2 separate regions of the Homo sapiens genome follow, and region 1 is linked to region 2. Evidence: promoter capture Hi-C in human tissues and cell types (Jung and others, 2019). All regions are on one chromosome and are shown on one strand. Each heading gives the region's core, a stretch centred on a gene start or on the middle of the fragment in contact. The rest is flanking DNA. Distances are from core to core; before and after follow the strand shown.

Region 1 (6,619 bases), core at 3,853-6,352, 96 kb before region 2:
AAAGGAAATCTGTATACCGAAGAGATGTCTGCACTCCCATGTATTTCGCAGCTCTGTTCACAACAGCCAAGATATGGAATCAACCTAAGTGTTCATATGGTGCCCATACAGATGGGAGTACTATTCAGCCATTAAAAAAGAAAAAGATCCTGATATTTGCAGCAACATGGATGGAACTGCAGGAAGTTATGTTAGGTGAAATAAGCCGGGCAGATTCTGCTGTCACTCTTAAAAGACATGTTTCTCTGTTTGTTGTTTTATTTCTGTGGTTGGTGAGGGAATGTGTGCCATGCATTTGCACAGGCAGAGTCCCTGCTAACTCTTCAGAGGCTACAAGGAGCCTAAAGCTGGCAGGTGCTGCAGAGGCCAAAAGGTTAGCATCTCAGGGCTGAGTCCCAGAACCAGCTTCCCATTGGCCACAGGCTGGCTGATGTATCCTTGCGATAAAGATATTAAACTTGCAACAACTCCCTCAGGGAAGGGTGGTGGTCCTGCTGGTGGAATATGTGGAGGTTGTATTTATTTATTTATTTATTTATTTTTGAGATGGAATCTCGCTTTGTCACCCAGGCTGGAGTGCAGTGGTGGGATATTGGCTCACTGCAACCTCTGCCTCCTGCGTTCAAGCGATTTTCCTGTCTCAGCCTCCCAAGTAGCTGGGACTACAGGTGCGTGCCACCACACCCAGCTAATTTTTCTATTTTTTTAGTTGAGACAGGGTTTCTGTATGTTGGGCAGGCTGGTCTCGACCCCCTGACTTGAGGTGATCCACCTGACTCGGCCTCCCAAAGTACTGGGATTATAGCCATAAGCCACCGTGTCCAGCCTGGAGGCTGAATTTAGAGTGGTTCCACTTCAAGAATAGCGCTAAGCTTTATCAAAAGGTGGCATTGCAGCACAGGGGATTGAGAGTAACTGGCAGGCAGAACTGGGGGCATCCTGGGCCCTTTGGGGATGATAATTTATTCTGGGCCAAAGAAGAAAGTGGGATATGGAGGAGACACAGTCTGATGGAGTAGCCTAGCTCCATTTTCTGTGGGCTGTGGGGGTAGTGGGTGGCTGATTTAGCCACTCATTCATTCATTCCTCACCAAATATTTTGAACACCTGTCATATGCCACATGCTGTATTGAGAGTACAGTGACGAGCAAGACAATGGTTTGGCCCTTCACAGAGTTGTCACTGAGGTGAGGGAGGCGTTCTCACCAACATTCCTTCCAGAAAAATCCCTAGGGACCTGACAATAAAAGAATCACACACAAAATGGCACAGATCACCTCTTGACGTGGGGAGGTCATGCTTTAGCGATGTTTATTTAATTCTCAGTGGATTTGAAGGAACATATCAGGGAATCCAAAGCACCAGTGCAGAATCCCACAGCTCAGGGAACCTGCGCCAAGGAGGCTTTTTGATAGAGGGAAACAGTAGGAGGAGGCAGCTGGGAATGAGGATGGGGGAAGACTACAGCAGTGTGTGACTGTGGTCTACAACAGGCACGAACCTCAAAAATAGCGTTCAACGTGAAAGGAACCAGACACAAAAGATCACATATTACGCCTGTAATATCAGCACTCTGGGACACTGAGGCGTGTGGATCACCTGAGGCCAGGAGCTCACAACCAGCCTGGCCAACATGTCCCTACTAAAAATACAAGAAAATTAGCCAGGCGTGGTACCACATGCCTGTAATCCCAGCTACTTGGAAGCTGAGGCAGGAGAATCTCTTGAACTTGGAAGGCGGAGGTTGCAGTGAACCAAAATCACGCCACAGCACTCCAGCCTGGGAGACAGAGCAAGGCTTAGTTTTAAAAAAAAAATCAAATATTGTGTGATTCTGTTTATAGGAAATATTCAGAATTGGTAAGTCCATAAGGACAAAAACCAGATTGACAGGGGCTGAGATGAAAAAGAGAATGGGGTATGGGGAGTGACAGCTTGATAGGTATGGGTTTTGTTGGGGGGAGATAATGAAAACATTTGGAACTAGGAGAATCACCTGACATCAGGAGTTCAAGACCACTGAACTCGAACCTGGGTGACAGAGTGAGACTCCGTCTCAGAAAAAAAGAAAATGTTTGGAACTAGATGGTGGTGGTTGTACAGCTTTGTGAATGAACCACACACCACTAAATTGTACACTTTAAAATGGCTAATTTTATTTTATGTGAATTTCATCTTAATTTTTAAAATTATATATATACATGGCCGGGCATGGTGACTCACACCTGTAATCCCAGCACTTTGGGAGGCTAAGGTGGGTGAATCACTTGAGTTCAGGAGTTTGAGATCAGCCTGGCCAACACGGTGAAACCCCATCTCTACTAAAAATACAAAAATTAGCCAGGCATGGTAGCACACACCTGTAATCCCAGCTACTAGGGAGGCTGAGGCAGGAGAATTTCTTGAACCCCGGGGGTGGAGGTTGCAGTGAGCCGAGATCACGCCACTGCACTCCAGCCTGGGCAACTGAGTGAGACTCTGTCTCAAAATATATATATATAATTTTGTATATTATAATTTTCAATAATCTCACTCCTCCACTCATTTGCACTGCGACCTCAGACAACTGGTGCCATGGAAGGGAAGGAAGCTGGCTTGCAGCAGGTCTCTCAGAGGCAGGAAGTTGCAGGGAGTCAGAGCCATTATCTACAGAGGTGGGGACACTGAATGACCCTGGAATCCTTTGACCCCCTTCCCTCAGCCCCTTCAGCGGGGCAGGAAGCAGATCTGGTATGTTGGGGGTATTTTGCCCACACCACACTCCTGGGGTGTCAGATCGATGTCTTCAGGAGCCACGGGGCTGGCCACGGAGAAGTTCTGGAGGATGGTGGTGAAGAAGAGGAACAATTCCGCACGGGCAATGCCTTCACCAAGACAAATCCGCTTCCCTGTGGGCACAGAAGGTCACCAGCATGGGCACAGGGCAGGTGCATACACTTCGCTCTGCCATGTCCCTAAGCCCAGACATGTATGTCCACTGCAAGAGATTTGCATAAGACTGGCCTTTAACCTACAATTCAGGGTGGACTTTTAGGAAGCTGCTCTGAAACCAGGTGCAAATCTTTGAATGGATGTGCCATGTTCATTTCTCTCTCTCTCGCTCTCGCTCTCGCTCTCACTCTCTCTCTCTCAATCTCTTTATTTATTTATTTATTTATTTATGTATTTATTTATTTATTTTTGAGATGGAATCTCTCTCGGTCACCCAGGCTGGAGCACAGCGGCGACATCTCGGCTCACTGCGACCTCTGCCTCTCAGGGTGTTGAAACGATTCTCATGCCTCAGCCTCCCAAGTAGATGGGATTACAGGCACCTGCCCCCACGCCTGGCTAATTTCTTGTATTTTTAGTAGACATGGGGTTTCACTATGTTGGCCAAGCTGGTCTCGAACTCCTGACCTCAGGTAATCCACCCACCTTGGCCTCCCAAAGTGCTGGGATTACAGGCGTGGGCCACCGCGCCCGGCGCCATGTTCATTTTTCTAGTAGAGAGTTTGTAGCTTCTGTTACAGTTCCAAAGGGTTTGGTGATCCCCACAGTGTATAATGACCCACTTCTGGTTGTGTGTGTGTGTGTGTGTACCTCTACATGTGTGTGAGCACATTTATGACAACATTCTTAGTGTTCACTTCTCATACGGGGAGAATGGCACCTCTCTCAAAGGGCTCTTCTGAGGTTAAAGGAGACAATTGTAAAAATTCTTAGAACAGCACTTGGCTTCTGCTAAGGAGCCTTAAGGTTTGGTTATCGCCTTGTGTTTGTTTCTGGGGGTATCTGTGGGGTATGTGTTTCTGGCCATGTGTCTGTGTCTGTGTCTCTAGGCTGTTTTCTGGTCTCAGCCTGAGATCCACAGGCTTCAAGAGCTCAGGGGGTAAAAAACCCAAATTGTATATAAATTGTGAATGGGACTGATGCATATGAGACAGGGAGGGTCTATGGCTTCCACCGATTCTCAGAGGTGCAAGGAACCCCCAGTAGGTTCTAAACCACAGATTGGGAGAAAAATGAGAACAAAGGGAGCTGGAAAAAGCTGAGGCAGAGACAAAGGGAGCCTTTCCCTTCACTTCAGTGTTTCATAATCTGCAAACCTTGGAAAGGCCATGTCAAGTGTGAGTTTTCAGGCATTCCCTATGCCTGCCAAGTTGTTGGACAAGTGTGTCTATGTGGAGGTGTCTGGAAATGGGTCCATGTCCCTTTGGCACATCCAGAAGTTGGGCAACATGAGCTTAGAAACAGGCAGGTCTCTGGGCCTGTTCTTCTGTAGCTCTTTGTGTGACCTAACATTTTCCACAACAGCCTGATGCTTATTATCTCCCTCTCATCACGCCCTCCCCATCTCTGGGGCCATCTGTTTGGACACCTTTCGAATTTCTTTGGCTGCAGTACCCTTTTGGCTTGGGTTATACCTTTCTTTCTGCCCCTGGCAGCCCTACTCCTGTCTTTTTCTCTGTCTATACCTGTCAGACACAGTTTTTCTTCTTTTCCTCTCCTTTTTTGGCTTTCTTCCATCTTGCTTAACCTCCTATCTCCATCTATTTGAATCTGATTGCTCCCCAATCTCTCTCTCTCTCCTTCTTTCTTTTCATCTCCCTCTAAAGATACCTTATTTGTCTCCTTCATTCTTTCTTCCTCTCTTCTTGTGTCACTCTCTCTTTTTCCTATCTCTTATTCTGTTTCTCTCCTTTCCCTCCTTCCTTCTCCCCTCCGCCTTCCTTTTCCTCCTCCCTCTCCTCTTATTCCTCCTCCTCCTCTTCTCCTTATGTGGCTCTCTCTGTGTGTGTCTCTCTCTCTTCCTCTCCGTATACTGCCTGATGTTCACCTGCTGTCTGTCCTTCTGCCACTGTCTCCCCATCTCTATCTCTCAGTGTGTTCCCTCTTTGTCCCCAACTATGTTTCTCAATCTTATTATCTTTGTTACTTATCTGTCTCTGTCCTTATTTCCCTACATCTCTGCCTCTCTTAAAACAAAATAGCAGGCCTGTCACAATGGCTCACGCTTGTAATCCCAGCACTTTGAGAGACTGAGGAAGGAATATCACCAGGTCAGAAGATCAGGACCATCCTGGCTAACATGGTGAAACCCCATCTCTACTAAAAACACAAAAAATTAGCCAGGCATGGTGGTACACACCTGTAGTCCCAGGTACCTGGGAGGCTGAGGCAGGAGAATCGCTTGAACCTGGGAGGCAGAGGTTGCAGTGACCTGAGATCATGACACTGCACTCCAGCCAGGGCAACAGAGCAAGACCCTGTCTGAAGAAAAAAAAAAAAAGAAACCTTAAGATAATGTCTCAGGCATGGTGGCTCACGCCTGTAATTCCAGCACTTTGGGAGGCTGAGGCGGGTGGATCGCGAGATCAGGAGATCAAGACTATTCTGGCTAACACGGTGAAACCCTGTCTCTACTAAAAAACACAAAAAATTAGCCGGGCATGGTGGCAGGTGCCTATACTCCCAGCTACTCAGGAGGCTGAGGCAGGAGGATGGCATGAACCCAGGAAGCAGAGCTTGCAGTGAGCTGAGATTGTGCCACTGCACTCCAGCCTGGGTGATAGAACGAGACGGTGTCTCAAAAAAGGAAAAAAAAAAAAAAACAAGACAGCAAAATTGAGAGAAGACATTGACCCTCAAGCCATCACCCCATGTGTTCCTAACTGTCATTGAAGATAAAATGTGGAAGGAGGTCACTGTACTGCACAAAACCAGGGGCTGGGCCAGGACCCTGGGTTGCTGAAGTCACTGATGAAACTCAAGACTAGGGATTTGTTTCTGGGGCCTTTCATGGATGGTGCGTGTTAAATTAAATTAAATTTGGCCTAAAGCAGCCTCCCTGCATAACAAACTGTAACGTAACTCAACATGTAAACAAACTGCAATGTAACTTGAGAGTATATTCTTGTAACAAGTAACCTTGGACAATCAGGGCAGCCAAGCTTCAGCCAGTCACAGGCTACAAGCTGCCCAGACATGCTCAGATAAGGCAAACACAGAGCTGTAACCAATCAGGCTGTTTCTGTACCTCAGTTCCTTTCCCTATGGATAAATAGTGCCTGATCACATTGCTGGGTGGAGCTCTCTGAACCTTTCCTGGTTCCGTGTGCTGCCCAATTCATGAATTGTTTCTTTGCTCAAATAGACTCTGCTAAGTTTAATTTGCCTAAAGTTTTTCTCTTAACCAGCCAAAGAGTGGAGGATGAGAACTGGGACAAGTCAGAGCACGTCAAGACCTTCTCCACCTCCCCAGTGCTAGACCATAAATCCAAACTCCTTCCACAGCCTTCAAGGTCCTGCCCAGCTGAGCCCTTTGTCTTATTCCCTTCCGCAATCTACACCCAAGGCTCACTGGACTTCCTATAGATTCTCAATGGTACCATCACATTTCCACCTTTAGCCTTTGCCCTTGCTGTTTCCTTTGCCTGGAACACACTTTGCAATCATTGATTGACGCCCACCCATGAACATCTCGGCTTGGAAGCCAGTTCCTCTGGTAAGCTTTTCCTTAATGACCCACCACAAGATTAGCTACTATTTCCTATTTTGTGCTCCCAAAGCTCCCTTTAGAGCACTTATCACAATTATGTCTAATTATAATAATAATTGCCCCGTGAGCATGTCCTTT
Region 2 (6,909 bases), core at 3,819-6,318:
TCTTCTCTTCTTTGACCTTCTTCACTCTATTTTCAGCCAACATTCCCACAGCCCCACCCCCCAAATCCTTGTCATCAATCTGAAATGTGAAACACAGACATTTCACTCTCTGACCACAACCACTAATACCCCAACTCCCCCACTGCTTCATTGCCAATGGCATGAGGGCTATACTGGCCAACTAGGTCTTTGCTTAAGGTTCCAAAGAGTGCAAACACTATAGAAGGTCAAGTCTCCCTCCTATTAAAAGACTTTTTTTTTCTAACATTTTGAAATCTTTTGTTACATGTTTACACGGAAGTATTTGAAGAAATACAAGGGAGTACAAGCAGTTTTTCTAATGTTTCATAAAGAAAAACAGGTGGGGCCTAGCAGTCCAAAGTGGTGATTAACAGCATGAAACTTACATTCACAGCCAGGCGTGGTAGCTCATGCCTGTAATCCCAGCACTTTGGGAGGCCGAAGTGGGCAGATCACCTGAGGTCAGGAGTTTGAAACCAGCCTGACAAATATGGTGAACCCCGTGTCTACTAAAAATAGAAAAATGAGCTGTGTCTGGTGGCTATAATCCCAGCTACTCGGGAGGCTGAGGCTGGAGAATCACTTGAACCCAGGAGGCAGAGGTTGCAGTGAGCCAAGATCGCACCATTGCACTCGAGCCTGGGCAACAAGAGCAAAAGAGCGAAACTCCATCTCAAAAAAAAAAAATTTACCATCACACAAGACCATACTAAGACTCTACACTCATTAGCTGTGAAATGCAGAAGCAAGTCACTTATGACCGGCTTTGGGGGAACTTATCTAACTCATTTGCAAAATGGAGATGATAAAGCTAACCTCAGTCTTGCAATCAGGAGTTCAATTAAGATTATGCTCATAAAAAGCTTCCTGCAGTTCTGGGGGTTTTTTCAAGCAGATAAATGGAGCTGGGATAGGACTGTTTTAATCCAAACACAGATGAGCACAGGAAAATATCACATGTTCACGTGTATGCAACATGGCCCACAAGTCTGCACACACACACCAGAATGAACACATGAAAACATCCACGTACTGGCCGGGCACGGTGGCTCACACCTGTAATCCCAGCACTTTGGGAGTCCGAGGCGGGCGGATCATGAGGTCAGGAGATCGAGACCATCCTGGCTAACATGGTGAAACCCCATCTCTACTAAAAATACAAAAAATTAGCCGGGCATGGTGGCAGGCACCTGTAGCCCCAGCCACTCAGCAGGCTGAGGCAGATGAATGGTGTAAACCTGGGAGGCAGAGGTTCCAGCCGAGACCATGCCACTGCCCCCCAGCGTGGGGACAGAGCAAGACTCTGTCTCAAAAAAAAAAACAAAGAAAAAAACATCCACATACTTATATGTAGTCACCCAATTGTGAATGTATACACACAAATATGAATATGCAGCATTCATCTTGTTCTACACAGAAATACACATCGTAGACACCCCTAAATCATGTGTGCACACATGCTGTATGCAGAGACAGACACAAAGATTGGCAAGCATTGAGAAACAGTGCCACACCCTGTCAGGCACACACACACATGTGCATGTGCAGACATAAGTTGGAATGGATACCCATTATCAAGCACAAACATACACACCACAAAGCCTGGTGCACACATAAATTCATGTATCAACATGAACATGCTGAAACATACATACACGTAGACACTAAAAGCATGCACCCAGAATGACACACACACAGTTGTATAAATGAGGATAAACATGGCAGAGGCATCCAGGAGAACCCACTGGACAAAATGGCACAAAACACAAAGATGCATGAGCACACAGGGTGATTGAGGGGAACACTGACTTGCAGGGAAGGAGAAAGAGAAAGATAGAAAGATGGGATCCAAGACAAGCATAGACAGACAGGTGGGCAAAGTCCTGTGCAGGGCTCCAGGGCCAACCAGAATAACCTGAGAGTCTAATGCTGGCCTGTCCTTCCGCAGATACTGCCTAACTCAGCACCACACTCCAGGAGGCCATGAAGGATTAATTTCCTATTCACAGCTCCATGGGGTAAAGCTTGGCTGTGCTGAGGAAGGGATGGCGAAGGAGGTTCCCAAAGACTCTGTCCCTTTCCTCCTTCCCAAAGGAAAAGATTTGTGAGCTTTAGACTAGAGAATGTAAAAGCAAGGAATGTGCTTAGGGAACATCTCATCCATCCGCTTCATCCTACAGATTAAAGAGAACAACTACCATTCATTGAGCACTTACTGCCATGTACCTCATCTGCATTAACACTTATACTTCTCCCCTAAATAGCCAAAGAGGTAGGAGCTGTTCTTGGCTCCATAAGACTCAGAGAGATGAAGTCAGCTGTTCAAAGCCACACAACAAAGAAAGGATAAGGTTAGGATTCCAATCCAGGCCTTAATCATTGCACCATCCATTCAGAAAGGGAAACTGAGGCCCAGCAAAGGAAAGGGATCTTCCTGGGCTCGCCACTAACTCACTCTGAAAGCCTGTTCCCAAGACACTGCCCACTGGGACAAGTCCCTCCCACATGATTTCAGACACCATTCTCTCACTCCATGCTCTAGGGTAATCAACAAGTCCAAAATTCATTGACCTCTATGTCCACAAATACTAGAGTTCTCCCAACCTGTCTCTCCCCATCCCCTCCCTGGCCAGGTCATGGCAACCTGCTGATCACTCAGTGCACTTCCTAGTGCCAACCCCAGTGAGAAACAAACTCCCCAGATTTCTGTCTCCCACCTTTTTAAGAAACACGAAGGAAAAGGAGGAGCCAGGCCCAGGTGCAGACTGGTGAACAGGATTAGAGCGATTGATATCTGCCAAGCTGGTGCTAATCTTCCTTCCCACCTCTTCCCCTCCAAAATCAACAAACAACTTTCCTCTCTCTGCCTTGTTCTCTGACCTTTGTTCCCTCCACACAGGTCTCAGAGCTCAGCATCCTAGAACAGTTTGAGCAAGATGTCAGTCCTGGGGGTGCCAACCTCACCCACCTCCACTTGTCCAAAGTTGGTGACCCAGAGGACAGGTGCAACCCTAAATGGTCCAACCACCACAGCCTGTCCTGTGGCCATCTGGGGCCCCTCTCAGGGTCTGGCTGAGGCTCATCTCAGACCCACATAGGACCAATATCAGCACCTGCCTCATGCTCATGTCACAGCCCACTGGGACCAACCTCAGACCCTATATGGTGCCACCCTTACGCCCTCCTGAAGCAGGACACTCTTATGCCCTCAATGACACCTGAGACAACACACAGAGCCCTCTTGGCACCAAACATGACTTCAATATTCTCCTGGTGTCAAGTTCAGTGCCAACTTGTTTCCCATCCTCGCATACACCTGGGGGCAGTCCCAAAGCCAACACGATGCCTTTCCCTCCCTGGCCATACCTGATGCTGATATCAGAACCCACCAATGTCATCAGTGTGTCCACTGCTGATGCCAGTCCCAGCACTCACCTCCTGCTAAGGCTGGCCTGCACTTGACTCCCAGGGTGATCTAGGCCAGTCAATGAAGGGGGGTGAGGAGAAAGTTCACATCCCAGCTCCCTCACTTACTCCCTGTGTGACCTCACTCAAGAGGATTTATGGAGTCTAGATCTGCTCATCTTCAAAATGAGGATGATCATGATGAACCAACCTCATTGTTACAAAGATTCAACCAGATCATACACACCTAGACTTAATCTTCCCGTATACGACCATGCTCACCAAAGGGTAACTGTCCTGTTTACTAAGGAAGAATTTCCCTGAGGGAAGGACAGGAGGGCTACTCATCCCTTCTCCACTCACACCCACCCCAGGATCTGCCTCTGTGCCTAATACTGGAGTTTACCCCAATCTCTTCTGCCACTGTTCCCTCTGCCTGCTAATAGTAGTAGCCCCTGACAAAGCAGGAATCATTCTTAAAGGAGACTTAACTCACCCTCGAATGTGATCTTCTCTTCCCAAACACTCCCTTTCCACTGGCAGGAAAACCAAATCCAGAAAGGGGAACTAAGTACACAGAGCAGGAGAGATGGGAGTTCAGGGCCACTCACACATGTCCCCTGCCCACTGTCTGTTTTCTGTCCTCTGTAGATCTTTATATAAAATGAGAAACATAAACAACAATCATAATATTAATAGGGATGATACAATCAATCTAGTGGGTTTCCCTGAGGATCTGGGTTGGAAACCAGCGGACAACCCTTGGGACACTTGAGATTTTTCCACCATTTGGGGGTTGTTATTACTATTTCTCCAGACCTAGCCAATCCCTCTGCCAACCGCTAACTCCAGGTACTCTTCTCCAGGTGTGGGGAAAGTTCCCCTGAAATATGGCTCTGGTCTTCCTCCCCTTCCCAATCAGAGATGGGCAGTGGAGGTTCTATGGCACCCATCCTGGCCTCACTCTGAGGTTCCAATGAGGATTCTGGGCATCAAGAGACAGCTCTGGGCAAAAGCAAAATCAAGTCAGCCCCTGGACCCAGTGCTGGGCTGCTGGGCTTTCTGGGAGAACCCGCTGGGCTTGCTACACACTCCTCCTCCCAGAAACTCCACACCCACAGCCCTGGGTCTTCCTAGCCCCGAGACTTTCAAGTCCATATGCCTGGAATCCCCCTTCCTGAGACCCTTAACCCTGCATCCTCCACAACAGAAGACCCCTAAATGCACAGCCACACTTTGTCTTACCCTAATAAAACCCAGACCTTTGGATTCCTCTCCCCTGGAACCCCCAGATCCACAACTTTGGGGTGCATTCTCACTCTCAGACCCCAAATCCAAAGCCCAAGTGCTCCCCTATGCAAATATTCCAAACTCCTCAGTTCTACAGCTTATCTGTTGCCCCCTCCTAAATCCACAGCCCTGCGGCACCCCTCCTGAAGTACCACAGATTTAGTCTGGAGGCCCCCTCTCTGTTCAGCTGCCCTGGGGTCCCCTTATCCTCCCTTGCTGGCTGTGTCCCAAGCTAGGCAGGATTCATGGTGGGGCATGTAGTTGGGAGGTGAAATGAGGTAATTATGTAATCAGCCAAAGTCCATCCCTCTTTTTCAGGCAGTATAAAGGCAAACCACCCCAGCCGTCACCATCTATCATCCCACTACCACCATGCTGGCCTCAGGGATGCTTCTGGTGGCCTTGCTGGTCTGCCTGACTGTAATGGTCTTGATGTCTGTTTGGCAGCAGAGGAAGAGCAAGGGGAAGCTGCCTCCGGGACCCACCCCATTGCCCTTCATTGGAAACTACCTGCAGCTGAACACAGAGCAGATGTACAACTCCCTCATGAAGGTGTCCCAAGGCAGGGAGATGGGTGGCACGGGGTGGGGGCTGCCTAGTTGGCTGGGGCTTTGTGGCAGGGGGTTGACCAGTGTGGACCAGAGTCTTAGGAAATGGAGTTTTGGAGTTTCAGCATCAGAAAGACAGGATCTTGGGATGTCCAGCTCCCTGACTGTGAGAACCTGGGTGCGAAGCATCCCAGCACATGACATCTCGGTGCTGGGCCCCATTCAGAGTGGAGGCTTCTCCCTCTAACCACTCCCACCCACCTCCATCAGATCAGTGAGCGCTATGGCCCCGTGTTCACCATTCACTTGGGGCCCCGGCGGGTCGTGGTGCTGTGTGGACATGATGCCGTCAGGGAGGCTCTGGTGGACCAGGCTGAGGAGTTCAGCGGGCGAGGCGAGCAAGCCACCTTCGACTGGGTCTTCAAAGGCTATGGTGAGGGGGTGCCCAAGAGGGGGAAGGTGGCCAGGTGGACACGAAGGTCTCAGTGTTCCCAGCCTTCTCCCTGACTCTCCTGCCAACTGGAGGCTAAGGCAGAGTCCCCAGTCTGGTCTTCCCTCCCCATCTCCCTTCATTGTGGCCTCTCCATGTGTATCCCTCACCTGTCTCCAGCGTCCCTGTCCTGATTCCTCCCTGCCTCTCTCTGCCCCACCTCCTTATTCTCTCTCACTGGAGTCTCCTCTTTCCCCTCTCTCTCCATCTCTAAGGACATCCTGGGTTTCTGTTTTCCAGCCCTGGTTCTCTGTCTTCATTTGTCTTTTTGTCCCTCTTAGCTTCTGGGCTTCTCTGTGTTTCTCATCTCTCCGCATCCCTTTCTCACTTCTTCCTCTGTCTTAGGATTTCAGGGTATTCCTACTTCCACATCTTCAGCCTCCATCTCCTGGTAACAGTCTCTCTTCCTTCCAGACCCTCTCTGTTTCTATCTCAATATTTTTCTCTCTTCTCCAGCTCAGCTTAAGAATCTTTCACCATTTTTATTTCCTCCTCCCAGATCTCCCCATATCTCACTTCCCCTCCCTCCATCCTCTTCCTCCATCACTCTCTTTCTCTCCCCACTTCCTTCCCTTCCTCCATGGAGTGTCCCCTTATCCCTCTGTTTCTATGTGCATCTCTCTGTCTGGCCTTTCTGTTTCTTTTCTGATTGTCTTATTCTTTAAACCTGGTCTCTCTCTCTCTCTCTCTCTCTCTCTCTCTCTCTCTCTCTCTCCTCTCTCTCTTCTCTCTCTCTCTCCTCTCTCTCTTCTCTCTCTCTCTCTCTCTCTCTCCTCTCTCTCTTCTCTCTCTCTCTCTCTCTCTCTCTCTCTCTCTCTCTACCTCGACATCGTGTTTCTCTGACTGAGTTTGCAGCTCTGCTGGGCAATGGCGCTGAATCCATCTCTCTCCCACCCTACTCCCTCTCTCCTCCACCCTTGGGGAGCCCCTTGGAGCTGCTCCGCTCCTGCCCCTGCCGCCCCCTGGCCTGTCTCCATTCCCGCGTTCACCTCCCCAGGCGTGGTATTCAGCAACGGGGAGCGCGCCAAGCAGCTCCGGCGCTTCTCCATCGCCACCCTGCGGGACTTCGGGGTGGGCAAGCGAGGCATCGAGGAGCGCATCCAGGAGGAGGCGGGCTTCCTCATCGACGCCCTCCGGGGCACTGGCGGTGAGCAG

What was found. Contacts are between HindIII fragments. The study calls those that stand out against the background at their distance.
Region 1: a contact is called between a fragment that was not itself captured here and the fragment with the promoter of CYP2A6 in region 2, in 2 of the 25 tissues and cell types used here (liver and mesendoderm cells).

What each region holds. Positions count from the first base shown.
Region 1 is chr19:40,945,322-40,951,940 of GRCh38, reverse strand. It overlaps the pseudogene CYP2B7P. Among named protein-coding and RNA genes, the nearest start is that of CYP2B6, 43 kb to the left of the region's middle. The HindIII fragment of the contact is 3,398 bases long and covers 3,404-6,619 here.
Region 2 is chr19:40,848,606-40,855,514 of GRCh38, reverse strand. It overlaps CYP2A6 (cytochrome P450 family 2 subfamily A member 6), which reads left to right and starts at 5,068. Exons shown (of 9, transcript NM_000762.6): 1 at 5,068-5,268; 2 at 5,535-5,697; 3 at 6,752-6,901. The coding sequence starts at 5,089. RefSeq lists enhancers at 1-557, 2,642-2,676, 3,872-3,900, 6,710-6,909 and promoters at 4,953-5,089, 4,070-5,089. The HindIII fragment of the contact is 10,166 bases long and covers 1,466-6,909 here.